Regions from separate parts of the Homo sapiens genome. Here region 2 is linked to region 1. The links are contacts of gene promoters, found by promoter capture Hi-C in human tissues and cell types (Jung and others, 2019). All regions are on one chromosome and are shown on one strand. Each heading gives the region's core, a stretch centred on a gene start or on the middle of the fragment in contact. The rest is flanking DNA. Distances are from core to core; before and after follow the strand shown. Region 1 holds the start of NEK2 (NIMA related kinase 2). Region 2 overlaps HHAT (hedgehog acyltransferase).

What was found. The method cuts DNA at HindIII sites, captures the fragments that hold promoters and counts their contacts. A contact is called where the count stands out against the background at its distance.
Region 2: a fragment that was not itself captured here is called in contact with the fragment with the promoter of NEK2 in region 1 in 1 of the 25 tissues and cell types used here (aorta).

The regions. Positions count from the first base shown.
Region 1 is chr1:211,674,142-211,677,436 of GRCh38, forward strand. It overlaps NEK2 (NIMA related kinase 2), which reads right to left and starts at 1,480. Exons shown (of 8, transcript NM_002497.4): 1 at 1,243-1,480; 2 at 155-372. The coding sequence starts at 1,338. NEK2-DT (NEK2 divergent transcript) reads left to right here and starts at 1,621. Exons shown (of 4, transcript NR_148994.1): 1 at 1,621-1,725; 2 at 2,926-3,013. RefSeq lists enhancers at 1,184-1,443, 1,466-1,760. The HindIII fragment of the contact is 6,262 bases long and covers 155-3,295 here.
Region 2 is chr1:210,384,777-210,387,859 of GRCh38, forward strand. HHAT (hedgehog acyltransferase) reads left to right here. Exons shown (of 12, transcript NM_018194.6): 4 at 2,692-2,805. Among named protein-coding and RNA genes, the nearest start is that of HHAT, 57 kb to the left of the region's middle. The HindIII fragment of the contact is 5,842 bases long and covers 1-3,083 here.

The DNA of each region.
Region 1 (3,295 bases), core at 230-2,729:
ATGGGTGTTGATTCACCAGGAATTTTCTAAAGTACTGTGGACCTACCAAACAAATACAAATACACTCTTCCATATTACTGATCCTAAAACAAGATGCTTAAAATAAATGAAACTAGACCAATTTCAGCTTACATTTTTAAAAGATTATGCTTACCTTTCCTTGGTTCCCTTTGTAATTACACTAGCCAGATCCCCTCCTTCACAATATTCCATTACAATGTACAGTGTTGTATTGGTCCGGTCAATAATCCGATCATAGTAACGAACGATGTTTGGATGTTTCAGTTCACGAAGCAAATTCACTTCAGAAACAAGCATCTGTTTCTCAGCTTCTGTCATGGAGCCATAGTCAAGTTCTTTCCAAACTAATATCTGAAATAAGAATTTCCAAGGTATGAATGAACTCATTATGCTCAAAAACAAAGAATGAAAGTTCCAAGATTTAACAAATTACCTCCCTTTTAATTATATCCTACAATCAAGGTCATTATCTAATTTAGTTCAATGAACTTAAGGAGCTGTGAGTTTACTTCCATAATCTTCCTCCAGTTCTAAGCAGTAAATGTATGTTGTGGGGAGACAAACGGGAATGAGGCACATGAGGACTCCCCCAACCCCTACCCTCAGTTGGTTAGTGGGAAGTTGGCTAAAAGGTACTATAGTCAAAATTGGGGTGAAGGTGGTCAAAGTCCCTGCCCCATTCCACCCCAGTCGTGTTTTCCCAGGATGAGACACCTTGGTAAAGATCCCTCCATCAGCAGCCAGGCAGTTTCCTGTCCAATGTTACTTTCTGTAAAAGTTCTACCTATATACATTGGGAAATATGAATCCAATAATCCTAATAATGGATATTTTGAGGGAGTCTGACTGCAGATACAAAGCTTCGGGTTCTGGTAGTCCTGCCCCTTTCTTGTGCCTGAGAGGGCCACTCTTAGAGCTCTAAAAACAGCTCAGGAATTAGTTACCTGTCACCAATGGAAGGTCCTTAGCAAGCCAAAGCAGGAGAAAGAGAGAAATGGGGAGAGAAACGGGAAAAGATGGAAATACATATATCAAAAGAAGCGGTCTCCCATCCTTTAAGCCACCCAGGACAGGCTGTCAGATGCAGACCCAGGAAAGACGGTTTAGTCTTCCGGGCACCCATTTCCTCAGCCCTGTCGGTTCCCTTCGGTGGCGCAGGGCGCTCGCCCCGAGGCGACGAAACCTAAGCAGGGGCAGGCGCAGGGTAGGTCCCACGCTCACCTTGCCATCACTCTTCCTCCGGATCTTCTGGCAGCGGCCGTAGGAGCCTGTGCCAATGGTGTACAACACTTCATAGTCCTCAGCCCGGGAAGGCATGGCCGGCCAGTCGCCAGAGTCGCGCTGCCTCACGCAGGTTGCGCCGCCAAGTGCGGAGCTCCAGGGACCAGGAACTCCAGGGACCTGGATGGAGAAGCCCCCGAGCAGCACTGACCCGCCACCCCTGCCTTGGGCCCCGTTTAACCGTCGCGGGCCCTGATCTCGCAGTCTATTGGCAGGCGGTGGGCCGCTTCGCCTCTCTCATTGGCTAAGAAGAACACAACAATACCCTAGGCATTTTGGGAAAAGTGTCACTAGGCAACCGCGTCGGCGTCTGCTTTTAACCTGTGGGAGAACCCGGCGAGCTAAGCCAAACGGAGGGCGGGAGAGAGGAAGCGGCAGCTGGCGCCTCTCGGCAACTCTAACCCTCTGATAGAGATCGCCAAGGTAACCGAGATCTAAGGTCCTCCCCTCAGGCTTCTTTGCACACCGCTTCCACCAGATGCCTTCTGACCTTTGCACTCTGGCCCCTCACACTACCTACTCTCCCCGGCACACGCATTCCTCGCTCAGGTTCCAGTACCCTGAACCTGGGTGGGGTCACGTTGAGGATATGCTGAGAGCTGAATACAAATTAGAAATACAGACTCCCGGGTGGGCGCGGTGACTCACGCTCGCCCGTAACCCTAGCACTTTGGGAAGCCGAGGTGGGTGGGTCGCTTGAGCCCAGGAGTTCAGACCAGCCTGGGCAACAGGGCAAACCTCGTCTCTACTGAAAATACGAAAATTAGGCCGGGCGCTGTGGCTCACGCCTATAATCCTAGCACTTTGGGAGGCCGAGGCGGGCGGATTGCTCGAGGCCAAGAGTTCAAGACCAGCCTGGCCAACATGGCGAAACCCCGTCTCTACTAAAAATGAAAAAAAAAAAAAAAAAAGTAACAGAGCATGGGGTTGCAGGCCTGTAATCCCAGCTTCTTGGGAGGCTGAGGCATGAGGAATTGCTTGAACCTGGGAGGCAGAGGTTACAGTGAGCCGTGCGCCACTGCACTCCAGCCTGGGCGACAGAGTGACACCCAGTCTCCAAAAAAAAAAAAAAAAGGAGAAATACTGTCGCTCTCCTACCAAGTACTTTACACGTCTTGTCCCGTTTATGTGTGCCAAATACACAATTAACCCTATCGACAATACTTCATTGAACACAGATTCTCTTTTACGCACCCACACACCAACGTTCTCAGCTTACCCAGCCAAATGAACAGCCCCATGTTTACCAGGGAAGGAGGACTTAGAGGCCTCCATCCAGGGCTTGTTAGAGGAATATGTAAATTACCAGAAAGCTAATAATTTGGAAATGCATGAACAGGCCAGTTTTCTTTAAATATCTGTTCAGCAAAGGATTAAAAGACACCTGATTTTCTATTAATAAGAATTTAAAAGCTCTTTATGTAAAAATAAGGGACTTATTACATGCCCTGAATATAACATAAGATAATTGGAATTGCCAACCAGGAGAATTTTTAAATTAACATTCAAGGGCACTGTCTTACCTCAGGGGAATAGGACCAATTTAGGTTTCAAAAGTTATGTAAGGCACTGCAAGTGGCTGTGTTAATTAGCATCATTTTTTTATTTTTGTGCCTCTTACAGATTGGTATCCATAGAGCTTGCTGTGGTTTGAATGTATCCCCCAAAGTTCATGTGTTGGAAACTATTCTTAATGCAAAAGTGTTAAGAGGTGAGACCTTTAAATTGATTGGGTTATGAGGGCTACCCCTCACGAATGGATTAACGTAATCACAGGAGTGGGTTATCTTGAGAGTCGGTTGGTTATAAAAATGAGTTTGGCTTTCCCTTGCTGTTTCTCTTACCATGTGATGCCTTCTGCTATTTTATGACCCAGAGAAAAGGCTGCTGCCAGATGCTACCCCTTGATCTTGGACTTCCTAGCTTCCAGAACCGTGAGCCAAATAAACTATTGTTTATAAATTGTCCAGTCTGTGGCATCCTATTATAGCAA
Region 2 (3,083 bases), core at 479-2,978, 1.3 Mb before region 1:
AGGCTTTCATGTTTGCCTTGAAATGTGTGACTGAGCTCAGAGTCTATAAAGCTTTTGCTTCAAGAAGCAGTGAGTCAATATTTTTCTTACCCAAATCATTAAACATCATCTTGACCTATTCATTGGCCCAGCTTTTCTGTTTGGTCATTTCCCTTAGGTAACTTTTTTAAATAGGGAAGAATAGACATGAGAGAGACATTTTTATTTCCTTTAAATGAATGTTTTCTGTGATAATTAGAGGTGAAAGGCCATGTGTAATTTTTGTTGATGGGATTTTACCAGCAGAGTTTTCAGGAGTCCTGGACTTTCTGGTGGAACAGAAAGTCTTATATGTTTTGTTGTATTATATCCTTTTTTCCACCCTAAAAAATTAAACTTGGAGAAGTTTCGAGGCATAGGTAAGCTTGGGGTCATGAATTCTAAATGTAATTCTAAGTGTTCAAAAATGTTGTATTTAAAAAGCTCATATGTTTTTCTTTTTTTTTTTTTTTCTTTTTGAGTTTGTATTAAAAAAGTGTCTTGGCTTTTGTGTCTTTTAGCTGTATCCCTGTTATAAAAGTGGTATTTTACTAGCATGGCCTCATCACATGACCTTTGAACTTATTTACATTTGTTTAGTTAATTGACTCTTGGCTAATTTGGAAATCTCTAGATGGGGAAATAAGCTGTGGATCAGGGATCAGGAGCCAGGTTAAAGCTTTGAGTTCTCTGCTGTGCTGCCTGGCTGTGTGTTTGTGGGCATGTCCCAGACTCTGGTGTAGTCATCTCTAAATGGAAGCAATTCAACTACATACATGATTTCCAGCAAGGGACAGGGGCTTTATGAGCAGGTCATGTATCAGGATCTGGGGTGTGGGGAGCATGTGTAATCTGAGAATGCGCAGTATTGTATTTCCTTATTTGAAGAAATGGGAAAACTTTTTTAAAATGAGTGGCACAAAGTAAAGCATGATACGGTCTTGGCTGGTGGTTTACAAGGGATGGGAAGCACATGGGTCTAGCAGTTAGTAGCGGGTACTGCTGTTTAATAGCACTGTGTGCTGCTACAAACTTTTAATGTACATATGCTCTTATTTAAGCCTCAAAAATCCCTGTAAGGTAAGTACTATTGTCATATGAAGAAACAGAACAGAAAGGTTAAGAATCATGTTCAAGGTCATCACAGCAAGTGTGTGAGTAGATCTGGGCTCTGGACCCAAAACAAGCCTCCAGTCTTAGCTACCTTGCACTCATAGTCTGTTATGAATCAAGATCAATTTTATATGTATCTTACCTTCTGCAAAAAAGAGTTTTATTTGTGTGCAACTGGTATGACATTACCCCACAATCTTAGGTACACCAAAAAAATCACACTTTTCTTCAAATCCAATTAAGAGAGGCTTCAAGTTCCACTTGCAGAGATTGGTGAGGAGTTCAATATCAGTGGTCATTGCAGGAGTCCTTTTCTTTTTTTCTTTTTTTTTTTTTTTTTTTTTTTTTTGAGACAGAGTCTCGCTCTGTCGCCCAGGCTGGAGTGCAGTGGCGGGATTTCGGCTCACTGCAAGCTCCGCCTCCCGGGTTCACGCCATTCTCCTGCCTCAGCCTCCCAAGTAGCTGGGACTACAGGCGCCCGCCACTACGCCCGGCTAATTTTTTGTATTTTTAGTAGAGACGGGGTTTCACCGTTTTAGCCGGGATGGTCTCGATCTCCTGACCTCGTGATCCGCCCGCCTCGGCCTCCCAAAGTGCTGGGATTACAGGCGTGAGCCACCGCGCCCGGCCTGCAGGAGTCCTTTTCCAGGCACACATTTTGCTTAGAAAATTCTGAGACCTCAAATCCCCCTCCATCCTGGTAGTGCTGAACTGTTCACTGGCCAAGCCTGCATTGCCTGTTTCAGGGTGACCGATGACAGTGTGCATCTCTCCACGCTCCTCTTGGCCTCCGTGGTCCTTTCTGGGGCTCCTGAGGCCATGACTTTGAGGTGCTGGTTCCTAAGCGTCCACATGTCCACTGTTGTCAGAGGTTTCTACCTTCTCCTCCTGGGGAGCTTCATAGATGTGGAACCTGGTACTGATGCAGACACAGAATGCCACATGGACACAGAGCTTCTTGGGGGGAAGGGAAGTGTACCTTTCATTCCTTCATTATAAATTTATATGAACTTAGTTAATTTCTCTGACAAATTATTCTGTCTGTAAATGGCAACAAGACTCAGAATAACTGACTTTAAGCCATTTTATTAGTGTCCAGTTTACATTTCTCAGTGAAAATATCTAGTTGTCTAAACTGGGATAGCCTCAATTCATTACTTGTACTATCCCTGTGAACTTGGGTAAATGAATTGAGTTCCTTACGTCTCTGTTTCATGTTTTGCAAAATGGAAATAATAATAGCATCTATACTACAGAGGGCCCTGGGAGATCAGCTGTAACAAAGACACTGAGTTGTAGAAAGTCCGAGGTGCATTTGGGGAATGGCAATGGCAATCATTCCGGTTAGGTTGGTGCAAAAGTAATTGCAGTTTTTGCCATTACTAATAGCAAGCTGGAGGGGAGTGTACAGGTGGGTGGGGAAAGGCTAGAAGTGTGTAAATCCTCTTTTACAGAGTTTGGACTCACACTGGCCTTCTTTCCAGTTTTATTAACTGGAGTTTGTGTTCTGACTCAGACGTGTACTGAAATCCCTCTGATAAACTATTTTGTCCTATTTAGGATGCGACCGACTTTGAGTGGAGCTTCTGGATGGAATGGGGGAAGCAGTGGCTGGTGTGGCTTCTCCTTGGCCACATGGTAGTGTCTCAAATGGCCACACTGCTGGCAAGAAAGGTATGATTATATGTGTTGTTACCTTTTAAGTGTGTTTTTCCTTTGCTTCTTGTGAAGAAAGAGTCCAAGCTAGGAATCGGAAGACTTGGATATTAGCACTGGGAGCCTGGAAAAAATGATAAAGTTGTTAACAATCAATATAACATTTAAGATAAAAGTTCATAGTTCATATCCTGCACTTGCTTTCTCCAACTTATTTTCAGGCATTGAATATAAAGGTTGTAGTGTAAAACTAACCATGGAGGGTGGTGGTGGTCTTTAAGATCACTTCTAATCAA